Linked DNA regions of Homo sapiens: region 2 is linked to region 1. The links are contacts of gene promoters, found by promoter capture Hi-C in blood cells and fetal thymus (Javierre and others, 2016). All regions are on one chromosome and are shown on one strand. Each heading gives the region's core, a stretch centred on a gene start or on the middle of the fragment in contact. The rest is flanking DNA. Distances are from core to core; before and after follow the strand shown. Region 1 holds the start of SERINC1 (serine incorporator 1). Region 2 overlaps PKIB (cAMP-dependent protein kinase inhibitor beta).

Evidence for each region. Contacts are between HindIII fragments. The CHiCAGO score rates a contact against its expected background, and 5 or more counts as called.
Region 2: a fragment that was not itself captured here is called in contact with the fragment with the promoter of SERINC1 in region 1 in 3 of 17 cell types (M0 macrophages, megakaryocytes and erythroblasts); the score reaches 5.5 in M0 macrophages.

Annotation. Positions count from the first base shown.
Region 1 is chr6:122,468,311-122,474,067 of GRCh38, forward strand. It overlaps SERINC1 (serine incorporator 1), which reads right to left and starts at 3,497. Exons shown (of 10, transcript NM_020755.4): 1 at 3,389-3,497. The coding sequence starts at 3,427. It also overlaps a transcript of PKIB not described here. RefSeq lists enhancers at 3,147-3,546, 3,597-3,656. The HindIII fragment of the contact is 8,379 bases long and covers 1-5,757 here.
Region 2 is chr6:122,725,365-122,731,205 of GRCh38, forward strand. PKIB (cAMP-dependent protein kinase inhibitor beta) reads left to right here. Exons shown (of 5, transcript NM_181795.3): 5 at 1-1,009. Among named protein-coding and RNA genes, the nearest start is that of FABP7, 51 kb to the right of the region's middle. The HindIII fragment of the contact is 9,461 bases long and covers 1-5,841 here.

The sequences.
Region 1 (5,757 bases), core at 2,247-4,746:
ATCCTATACATTGTAGATTTAGCAGCATCCTTGTCCTCTACCAACTAACTAGATGCTAGTGGCACGCCTCACCCCAGGTTGTGACAATGAAAAATGTCTGCAGATATTGCCAAATGCCCACTGGGGAGCAAAACTGTGTCCAGTTGAAAATCACTGCTATGGAAACACCTCCTTAGAAGAATCTTTTTAAGAAACTCTCCTGACAAATGTTAACATTTAAGAATTACTTTTTTTTTTGTTAAATTCAAGAAACATTAAATTCAATGCTTTGCTTAAAAATATGTTTAAGATGCTGCCATTCCTAAGAATATATTTTTGTCTATTCATCCACCCATGTGTATACAAATACACAATGCACCCATGCATTGAGAGAGAAGGAAGATTTTGGGGGGACATTTTTATTTAATTTCTACTCTGCATTGCTTGACCATTCATAGCAACTATAAATCATTTCTATAAAACAAGTCACTGTATTAACAAAAATTTAGGAGGTTGGCAAAAAATACGCACTCAGTAATCACTAGTTCTTAACGACTTAACTAAACTAAATATCTTGATAGGTATTGTATATAAGGCTCACCCATTCAAAAAAAAAATCAATTCTGTCTACTCACTAATACCAATGTTGAGACTGGGATGGGGAAAAGCATGTAAGTAGGTATTAGTGATTGGTAATGTTATAGTTATAGGATTAGTTGGTATGATGTTTATAATGTTTAAAGTAATTAACAATCAAAAAAAGAGACAACCATGCATGAATAAAAAATTATACTGCCATGAACCAAGGATTATGATCAATCTAATTCTAGGTCTCTTAGCAGCAAACAAAAAGTGAACAATTTAACACTCCAATTTCTGCTCAGTGGTATTACACATAATTTGTCTCTTTATAGTTCAGACATTTTCTACAATTATTTTATAAATAAGGAAAAAACTTTTACTAAATTTGATTAAGCCTGCAGAAACTTGTACTAATTAAGAATGAGGTTGGTTTGTTTTTAATTCTGGCTTACCTGATCTAATTTAATGATTTGAATGTTACTTTTTTTTTGTTCTGTTTTTTGTTTTTGTTTTTTTTTTTTTTGACACAGAGTCTCACTCTGTTGCCCAGGCTGGAGTGCAGTGGCGCCATCTTGGCTCACTGCAGCCTCCGCCTCCTGGGCTTAAGAGATTCTCCTGCCTCAGCCACCCGAGTGGGATTACAGGTGTGCGCCACCACATCCGGCTGATTTTTGTTTTTTTGTTTTGTTTTGTTTTGTTTTCTGAGATGGAGTCTTGCTCTGTTGCCCAGGCTGGAGTGCAGTGGCATGATCTCAGCTCACTGCAACCTCCGTCTCCCAGTTCAAGCAATTCTCCTGCCTCAGCCTCCCGAGTAGCTGGGACTACAGGCATGTGCCACCATACCCAGCTATTTTTTTTTGTATTTTTAGTAGAGACGGGGTTTCACCATATTGACCAGGCGGTCTCCCACTCCTGACATCAAGTGATCCATCCACCTCATCCTCCCAAGTGCTGGGATTACAGGCGTGAGCCACTGCAGCAGGCTCTGAGTGTTACTTTTGAAAAGCTGAATAAATTTTAATTTCATCAAAACCTCTAAGTAAATGAGCACATTAACTGTTAAGAATGTGGAAGAGATGGTCCCCTTCAATGACTATTGGCCTGCAGTAAAATCAAACAATTAATGAATAGAGACAGAGGCACAAGGAAGAAAAGGGAAAAAGATTACTGAAACTGCAAACAATAAAATAAATTCCAAACTGAGCACGGTAGCACCTGCCTGTAGTACCAGCTACCTGGGAGGCTGAGGTTACACTTAAGCCCAGCAGTTCCAGGCTGCAGTTCACTACGACCATCCCCTGCACTTCAGCCCGGCCAATACACTTAGACCCCCATCTCTAAAAAACTGCCTCACTGCTTCTACCTTTTTAATGTACTTCGCTATTAACACAGAAACTAAAAGGCAGGGTCAATTTTATCACGGACATTCTTCTAATCAATAAAGGTGGCGATCTATTTTGTAAAAGGGAAAACATGTATCTCATCTTTTAAATCTCTATTATATACAAAAAACTACAGCACGCCCACTTCATAACTGGACAAGATACGACATTACAAATTGAATTGCATAACATCTTCCAATAAAAAACCGATGAAAACAATCTTATATGATAATCAATTATCAGTTTTCAAAACTGTTTATCACACTAAATATGCCTCTTTTGTATAAAAGTCAATAATTAAACTCTCTAATATCTTGAGATAAAATATTCCAGGCTTCCGTGCAAGAAGAAATACCATATAATCAAAAGAACAGACTGGCTGGAGTAACAATCCCCACATTATTATTTGATTAAAATTCAACATTTTTAGTTCAAGACATATCAAAACCTTTAAGAGTATATATAACGGAATCATTTGGGAAGTCAGAAAAGCAATTGTTAGAAACAGAATTAACAAATTCCAGACTAAAGAAAAGTGATTTGAGTCCAAATACCTCGCCTAAAATTACAAATATCTTTATTAACTGCACTGCCAATGTTTTGCCTACTATTTTGGAGGGGGCAGAGATTATCTTAAATAAACTGAAATTTGTGCCACACGGACCAAAGTCTTGCCACTATACTGAAAATAGTTTTACTCTAACAACTCTTTAATGAAAATGCAATGTACAGCTAATTAAGCATGAAATTTCAGATGACACACGCATGTTTTGTGCCTAAAGACAAAATTGTCATTAGGCACAAGGCATGCGTGTGTCATCTGAAATTTCAATTTTAAGTTGAAATCTGAAATTGACACTTCAAACAGTTACGGCAGAGCTATGACTATTTGTTTCAAAAACAATATTACTACATTAGCATTACTGCCAGGCGGTTCCAAATGACGACAGGCACTTTTTAATCATAATCTGCGCCACTGAACAAAGAGGGCGACATGAATCCAGGAACGACAGTGCGGCAGTCTGAGGTCGCCAGGAAAGAGATGACAACAGAGTGGGTACCCCACCGAAGGAAAGGGGCAAAGACCTTTGTAGAGATGGCCTGCGCAGATACAAACAAAACCACGAAAAGGGACCTCAAAGAATGGGAGACAGCGTTCACGAAGCAGGGGTGGGGGAGGGGCCCTATTCTAGTTCTCTTCCTCAATTTGAGTCATCTTCCCATCGCCACTAAACCTTACGGCCAGTGATCAGTTCTTCGCAAGACCCAAAGCTCTGAAGCTGAGTCTGAGTGACGAGAGGAGACGGGAAGAAAACGGGGACAGAGAGGGCACTCCCTGTTGGGTGGGGCACCACATTCCCGCCGGGCTCACCCAGCCCCGGCTCGGATCGCCTTCTCTTTGGTCTCTCACACTAGCACCCCAGAGGCCGCAAAAAGCACCTTACCCAGCTCGCCATGGAGCACAGCCCCAGGACGCTCCCCATCTCCACAACGTCACAAGAGCAGCGGATACAGACAAGATGGAGACAGCTTCTTTCTCGCCTTTCCGAGATTATTTACTATCTGCGAGACACTTCCGGACGCACAGCGCAACCCGCCCCTCAGCCTCGCGTCACTTCCTTCCAGGCCTGGGTAGGATAAAACACGGAGCGCGCAGCGCTGAGACTGCGCATGCGCGTCACTAGACGACACGGCTGTCTTCTTTCCTGGAGAATTTCTCAAGGACTGCTGGCTGGAAACTTAACGGCTAATGTGGATCTGACCGTAGTTTGCCAAATTAAGAAAACGGTGTGAGCAAAACCCACCTTTACCTACCATGCACTTGCATTTGGGCATTAGTAGAGAACAGAGCTGAGGTGGTGGTTGACGTTTTGCCCTCCTTCATCTGAGGAACCTCTCTGCTTTTTAGGGGATTGCTTCCTCTTTCTCAGTCTTTGTCCGTCCTAACTCCACTTATTTCCCATTTTTCCCACGTTTGCATCCTGTTTTGCTCTTGCGTTTGCAACGTATTCCTGCAGCCCGCTGCCCGGAACAAGTTTTATTGGGATATTTATATTCATCTGTGTGCTTCAGTTTCTCTGTATCATTTCTGTTTGCTATTGACTTATATTTTAATTTCTTATGCTATTAAGATGTTACAAGAAATTTGCACGTTAAAATTATTTTTAATTAGTTAGATAAGACATTATCAAACTCAAACATTGATTTCGAATGTCATGAGCTGTTGAGGCATGTGGAACCCTTGCATATTAGGTGATGATGCACATCTGCAGGGAATGCATTCCTATAAAAGTTCCAGTTATTTTTTTAGAGTTATTTGTTCTTGAAAATATTCTGGGAAACAGCTCAAACTTGAAATAGTCATTCCCATAACTAATAATAAGAAAGTGTTGTAAAATCTACAAAAATTGCATGGGTCGAGGTGGGGTAAACACCTAAGAATCTGGAAGAATGTCAGAATCCCTACTCCTAGTTATTGTAACCACTAAGGGACAATCTTGCTTTATTCTTCTTTGCCTTATCTGTGGTTTTGTAGACCACTCTTAAAGCAAAGTATTATAATAGAGCATCCATAAGGTTTAAAGAATTGTGGAAATGCTTGTAATCCCAGAACTTTGGGAGGCTGAGGCAGGCGGGTCACAAGGCCAGGAGTTCAAGACCAGCCTGGCCAGCATGGTGAAACCCCATCTCTACTAAAAATACAAAAAATTAGCCGGGCATGGTGGCACGCGCATGTAATCCCAGCTACTCGGGAGGCGAGGCAGGAGAACTGCTTGAACCCGGGAGGCAGAGGTTGCAGTGAGCCGAGATTGGGCCACTGCACTCCAGCCTGGGCTGCAGAGCGAGACTCCGTCTCAAAAAAAAAGAATAGTGGAAATGGAAATTACAAACCTAACAATATTTTTAATTATGCTAAACTTAATACGTTATTTATGGGAGAAGAGAATCCTAGTATCTCAAGTCCTTAAACTTTTCAAAGTACCAGAGAAGGAGACAAAAAACACTTATATGTGAGTAACTTTAAGGTCGTAAAGAATATGTTTATTAGCCAAATGGAGAATGGGTCTCTTAAAATTTAAATTTGCACAGATTCTTGTCTCTTGCTCCATTTAAGAGGGTTTCTGAGATATTCATAAGTTCTTGCACTATTCAATAGAGTTTTTTCACCTGAGATATTCAGAGTTAAATACAAAAGTCATATTAATCTTTCTGGAATGTAACACTTGGCCTTGAAATACATTAAAAAAAATTTACTTTTATTTAACCTGTAGGCTATGTGGAGTGGAATTTGCTCACTTAAGTTATTATATATACAACATTAATTGGACACGACAGTATATATAGACTATTTTATTCGTTAGAAGAGTCTTCGACACCAGTCTCATTTTTCTCTTTGCCAACTATGAAAGAAAATTGAAATGATGACTTTTTCAAATTTCAACCCAAACACAGCTCAAAGCATAGTTTTCTCAATATATACCAGCTATTAGTAGGAGCACCCATTTCTCCAGGTGACTTCCTGTAGCACACGTATAACTTACAATGCCAAAATTCAAATTAGTCTAAGTAAGTACGTTAGTAAAAAACATTCTATCTAGCTGAGCATGGTGGCTCACACCCATTATCTTAGCACTTTAGGTGGCTGAGGCGGGCAGATCACCTGAGGTCAGGAGTTCCAGACCAGCCTGGCCAACATGGCGAAAACCTGTCTCTACTAAAAATACAAAAATTAGCAGGGCATGGTGGCACACCTCTGTAATCCCAGCTACTCAGGAGGCTGAGGCTGGAGAATTGCTTGAACCCAGGAGGCAGA
Region 2 (5,841 bases), core at 761-3,260, 260 kb after region 1:
GATGTCCAAGGTAAGCTATTAAAAGGCAGGTTACTTCCAAATCGCACTGAAGGAAAAGGTTAAGAATAATACATGATCACAGAAATGCATACCACTGTCTGTAAACCCAACAAAATTCACTGTTCTCTTTTGGATTTATTTAGCCTGATGTATTTTTAATTCAATTTTTATGGTGATGGGCAAATCATTCTTGGTAAATGTAAATCAAACATGATTGATTTAAAACTTCATGGAATTTGTAGAAAATTATGGACATTTTTGGTGAGAAAGAACAATAGTCAAAACTCACATGGATAGAGTGTGTTTGTTTTTTGCCAAAAATGCCCCAGACTTTTTCCCAAACCTCAAAAACGTCTTGGAAAAATTGTAAAAGTTTGATAACAGAAACATCTTTAGGATATTTTTGTCTGACATATTTTGCTTCTAGTATGTGCCTACTGTGATTTTTTTCATGTGGAAAATGCAAAATTTGTAACAAAATGGTTATATGGAACATGCCTATTAAATGAATTTTACTATCTTCCCTAACTTTGGTCTGTGTATGTGTGTGTGTTTTACTTTAATATGAATTATACAAAATACTAGTTGTTTTACACTCTCTTTTCTTATTCTTAGGGCTTTTGTGTATGTCTGACTTGTTTTTAAATAACTTCCTCAGCAATGCAGACCTTAATTTTTATATTTTTTTAAAGTAGCTAACATAGCAGTAGGCACTTAAGCATTTAGTCAATGATATTGGTAGAAATAGTAAAATACATCCTTTAAATATATATCTAAGCATATATTTTAAAAGGAGCAAAAATAAAACCAAAGTGTTAGTAAATTTTGATTTATTAGATATTTTAGAAAAATAATAGAATTCTGAAGTTTTAAAAATGTCAGTAATTAATTTATTTTCATTTTCAGAAATATATGCATGCAGTTATGTTTTATTTGATTGTTGACTTAGGCTATGTCTGTATACAGTAACCAAATAAACTCTTTCACTATTAAAGAGATTTCTTACTGACACAAGTCTCCTTCATTTTATCTTCAGAAGTAGGCTGAGTAAAAAATGGTGACACATTTTATAGAATGAAGTTAACAGTCTTTGCAATATAAATCACCTCTGGCTTATTATTTAATTGACAGAGCTTACCTTTATATCTTATATACACCAAAGGGGTAGATCTCAAAGAACCTGATTGCTTTAAGTTTTCAAATATAATTTTTTCTTTATTAAATAATCAAAAGTAATATTTTAAGTGTAGCACTAATTTAATATTCAATAACATTTATCACAGCCATTAAAATTATATTTCTAAAAGTTATTTAATGACATGAGGTTTTATAATCAGATAAAGAGGGGTTAGAGTGGAACAGTGGTTTTCAGCATGGATGGGGAAGAAATTTTGCCCCCTAGAGGGCATTTGACAATGTCTGGAGACTTTTTGGCTGCCACAACTGGAGGTGGAAAGCAAGGGAGAAAAGGTGCTACTGTAATGTAGTGGGCAGAGGCTGGGGATACCGCTAAGCTGCTAAGCATCTTACCATTCCACAGGGCAGCCCTGACAGCAAGGATTACCCGGTCATGTGTGTCAACAATGCTGAGGTTGAGACACTCTGGAGTAGAGTTAAACTGTTAAGCATATGGATTTTAAATTCAGATTATCTGGGTTTGAATTCTAGCTCTGCTACTCAGTAGTTGCGTGATCCTGGGCAACTTACATCATGTCTCTAAGTCTCAGTTTTATCCTCTGTGGAATGGTTTTAATAATAGCGCATACTTTATAGGGTGGGTGGAGGCAGTAAATGAGATAGTATATGCAAAACAATTGAATAATGCCTGGCAAAGAATAATTATTCAATAAATATTAGCTATCATCATCATCGTTGTCATATTTATTCAAGATGCTCTTGCCAATACTGTGGTAGTGGAGGTGGTAGGAAGCTCAATTTGTTTATTTGTCTGTCTTCTGCCTTTCTCTGTGACTTCACAAAATCTCTGTGATATCCCCAATGCTTGGTGCTGGGAGAAAACAGGATGGTAGAAATAGACAATTCATGGTAATTACCACATGAATGCTAATTCAATCATGCTAATGGGTGACTGACAGGCCATGAGTATTACCATTTAACAATGAGTCTGCTCACTAGTGTTTTATGACAGTTACTGCAAAAAAATAGAATCTTGAGTCAGTATTTAAATGAGTAATTTGTTCCATGAAAATGTAGAAGAAATAAAGTAACATCGTTCTTGGATCATAGTTTTCTACAATATTTTTCTCATTTAGAAGACCAAAAGTAAAGCCATGTCCCTCCTCATTATTGCTAACAGTTACATATATTCTGAATGATATATATTCTAAATCAATTATTCACTACAATGCACACACAAACGTTCCATTATTTTGTATTACCCAAGGTATCAGGCTTGTTCACTGAGAATATGTGCTAACGAAAATGGTTTATTTTCCCTGAGGAGTCCAGACAAAGGAGAATGAGAGGTCAGTAGCAGTTTAAAGACAACGCTGAATTTGCCTACCAACTTTTTAAAAAATCAAGCTATTTTGAGGAACCTATGGTATTTTGTCATAGCAAGTAGACACTTTTACCAAAGCTATTTATTTGGGACTTATTAAAGAAAGTCTCCTTGCCCATTTTGCCATTGTCTTTGTACAAGGCACTTGCTTTAGTCAATAGCTATGAAGTCTAAATTAACACTGTCAGATAATCAGGCTAAAAGGTGACAATAAAGCTATAAAGCAGCTGTCTGAAAACTTAACTCTGTATAAAGGAGAAAGAACAAAAAGAATCTATTCTGTGTCATGTACCCAGAGATATTTTGTGTTCTGGGTAGAAAAGATTTGAACTTTCTTAAAACGTTAGTGAGTATAAGGGGAGGTGCCCTACTTAGAAAATAAACCACTAGTTTTCCTCAGGTGGCTTGACAACTTGGGCAGATGTTTGGCAAGGGACAGGGGGATAGAGAGGAGCCAGAGGAAAATGAAAATTCTGGTGTTCTATGCCACTGTAGAATGACTATACTTAGTAATAACATATAATTTAAAATAGCTAGAAGGGGCCCTGTGCAGTGGCTCACACCTGTAATCCAGCACTTTGGGAGAGCAAGGTGGGTGGATCACTTGAAGTCAATAATTCAAGACCAGCCTGGCCAACATGGTGAAACCCCGTCTCTACTAAAAATACAAAAATTAGCTGGGTGTAGAAAAATAAAAATTAGCTTGATGTGGTGGCATTGTCCCAGCTACTCGGGAGGCTGAGGCAGGAGAATCACTTGAACCCAGGAGACAGAGTTTGCAGTGGGCCGAGATTGTGCCACTGCACTCCAGCCTGGGCAATAGAGCAAGACTCTGTCTCAGAAAACAAAAACAAATTAAAATAAAATAGCTAGAAGGAGGATGTTGAGCATTCTCAACACAAAGAAATGACAAATGCTTGAGATGATGAATATGCAAATACCATGATCTGACCACTCTAAATTGTATGTATCAAAACATCACTATGTACCCCATGAATATGTATAATTATTATTTGTTAATTAAAAAGTAAAATAAAAAAAGGATATAACCAAAGCTCACTAATCTGTTACCCTGTCTGTGGAGCCTGGCCCCTCAAGTTCAAAGTACAGCTCTGCCATTTGCTCTTATGATTTTGTTCATTTTATTCCTTGTGCTTCCATTTATTCAACATGTAAAATGATAAATTATTATGAGGATTAAGTGAGTGAATATTAGTCATTGATAAGGGCAGTGCCTGGCATACTAGCAAAAACTCATATTATTATTATTTGCCAGAACATAAAGGATGATAAAGACTTTAAGTTGAATGTTCTAGATCTGTTGATTTTTTCCTATGTTATTTGCCAGTATAGATTTCCTTCTATTCTTCTGCTCTTTTCTTTCCGCTAGCAACACCTCCGTGGCTAAAAACAGGACTGATTAATCAGACTGAGTCCCTTTTTTTTTTTTAGTGTTACTGATGACAACTCTCAGAACATTAAAAATCTGCAGCCAGTTAAAAACTGGAAGCGTTGGCTCAAACAAAGGGCTGGGGCAATGTTGTTGTTACTTGTTAAAATCCTAGAATGGATTTCTCAGTGGGCACACATCAACAGAAGTCATCATCATAGGCCGGGCGCAGTGGCTCATGCCTGTAATCCCAGCACTTTGGGAGGCCGAGGCAGGCGGTTCATGAGGTCAGGAGATCGAGATCATCCTGGCTAACATGGTGAAACCCTGTCTCTACTAAAAATACAAAAAAATAGCTAGGCATGGTGGCGGGTGCCTGCAGTCCCAGCTACTTGGGAGGCTGAGGCAGAAGAATGGCATGAACCCAGGAGGCAGAGGTTGCAGTGAGCTGAGATCATGCCACTGCACTCCAGCTGGGGCAACAGAGCAAGACTCCGTCTCAAAAAAAAAAAAATCATCATCATAGCCAAATTTCTTGTGACTGGTGATTACTTAGCACATAGTAGATCCTTTTGAATCTTCATAAAAAATCATATAAAATAGTTGTTAATGTTTCTCATTTTTACAGATGAAGAAAATGGATTCAGAGAGTATCTTTGAGAGTTCACACAAGGAAGTGCAACAGTGACTTAGGACAGGGCTCTCAGAGTTTGGATGTGCACAGCCTCTCTTGTACCAAAAGTCCCCTCTTCCCCAAACCAGCTCATTCATGAGCATATTAGATTTGTCTGAATTTACTCAAAATTCTTAGGGAAATTTAAAAGTTGTATAAGAAGAATAACATATGAGCCAAAATGAGCACTGATATCTCAAAACAGCAATTTTATTTATTTATTTGGCTTTATTCTTTCATTAACTCATATTTTACCTCATTCCAGAAATGATTTTATATGGCAAGCTGTTGGTATTGTTGTCATTTAATTTTCCATTAACTTGTAGAGCCCTGAAGGAGTGCAGAGTTGGTGAGAAGACTGGGATTCTTTGGGGTGGGAAGTAGTAGCTGGAAGAGAGGCAGAGAAGAAAGGCTCCCCATCCTTGGCTCGGCTCACATTCAGCTTGGGGCTAACCATGGTTGTGAAGAGGGCACATGGACATTCTGAGACACAAACTGCATCTGGCATGAACTAACTATGAACATTTTTAGAGAAGGGCCACATAGGTAAGTGAAATCATCTCATTTGTTCCTCAGTGATAAATTTCAGAGGCTGAATTATTTTTGGCAATGTTGATGGCAGAGAAGCATCCGAAGTGCCAGATGGGTCGCTACAGAGACCTCAGGGAACCATAAGAAAGCCAGAAATCTGAAGAAAAAAAAAAAAAGTCTCACCTTAGAGTCTGTGGAATTGAGCTCTCATAGTGCTTTAGGCATACCAGATATTCAAATAGTCCTGTTTTATAACGTATTTGTCACCTAAATTGAATTTCCATTAGTGGAAGGGATTTGTTTTTTACATATTGCCTTTCTTTGATGTAAAATTGTGGAGAATAATAGGAGAAAAAGCATGGGGCTGTCGTCAATAAATGCGGATTTGGTTCCAGGATTTTGACCTAAATTTAACCTATATTGACTACGTGCCTTTGGGTACATTATTTTCACCCTGGGCAGTTTTTCTTATTTGAGAGAATTATTCAAAACTGACACTAGGTGGTGCTCTGCTCCCACTGGCTCTACAAAAAATTTAATCGAGGCATGCCTGAGGTTTCCAGTTTGTTTCACCAATTCTGCTACATATGTTGGTCAGGATTACTGCAAAAACAAAACAGCAACCAAAACTATAGTATTTCCAACACAATTTTTTCAAGAGACACAAGAAAAATATTATAACAGTGTGCTATTCTGTGGCTACCAATTTTTTAGGATACCCTATGT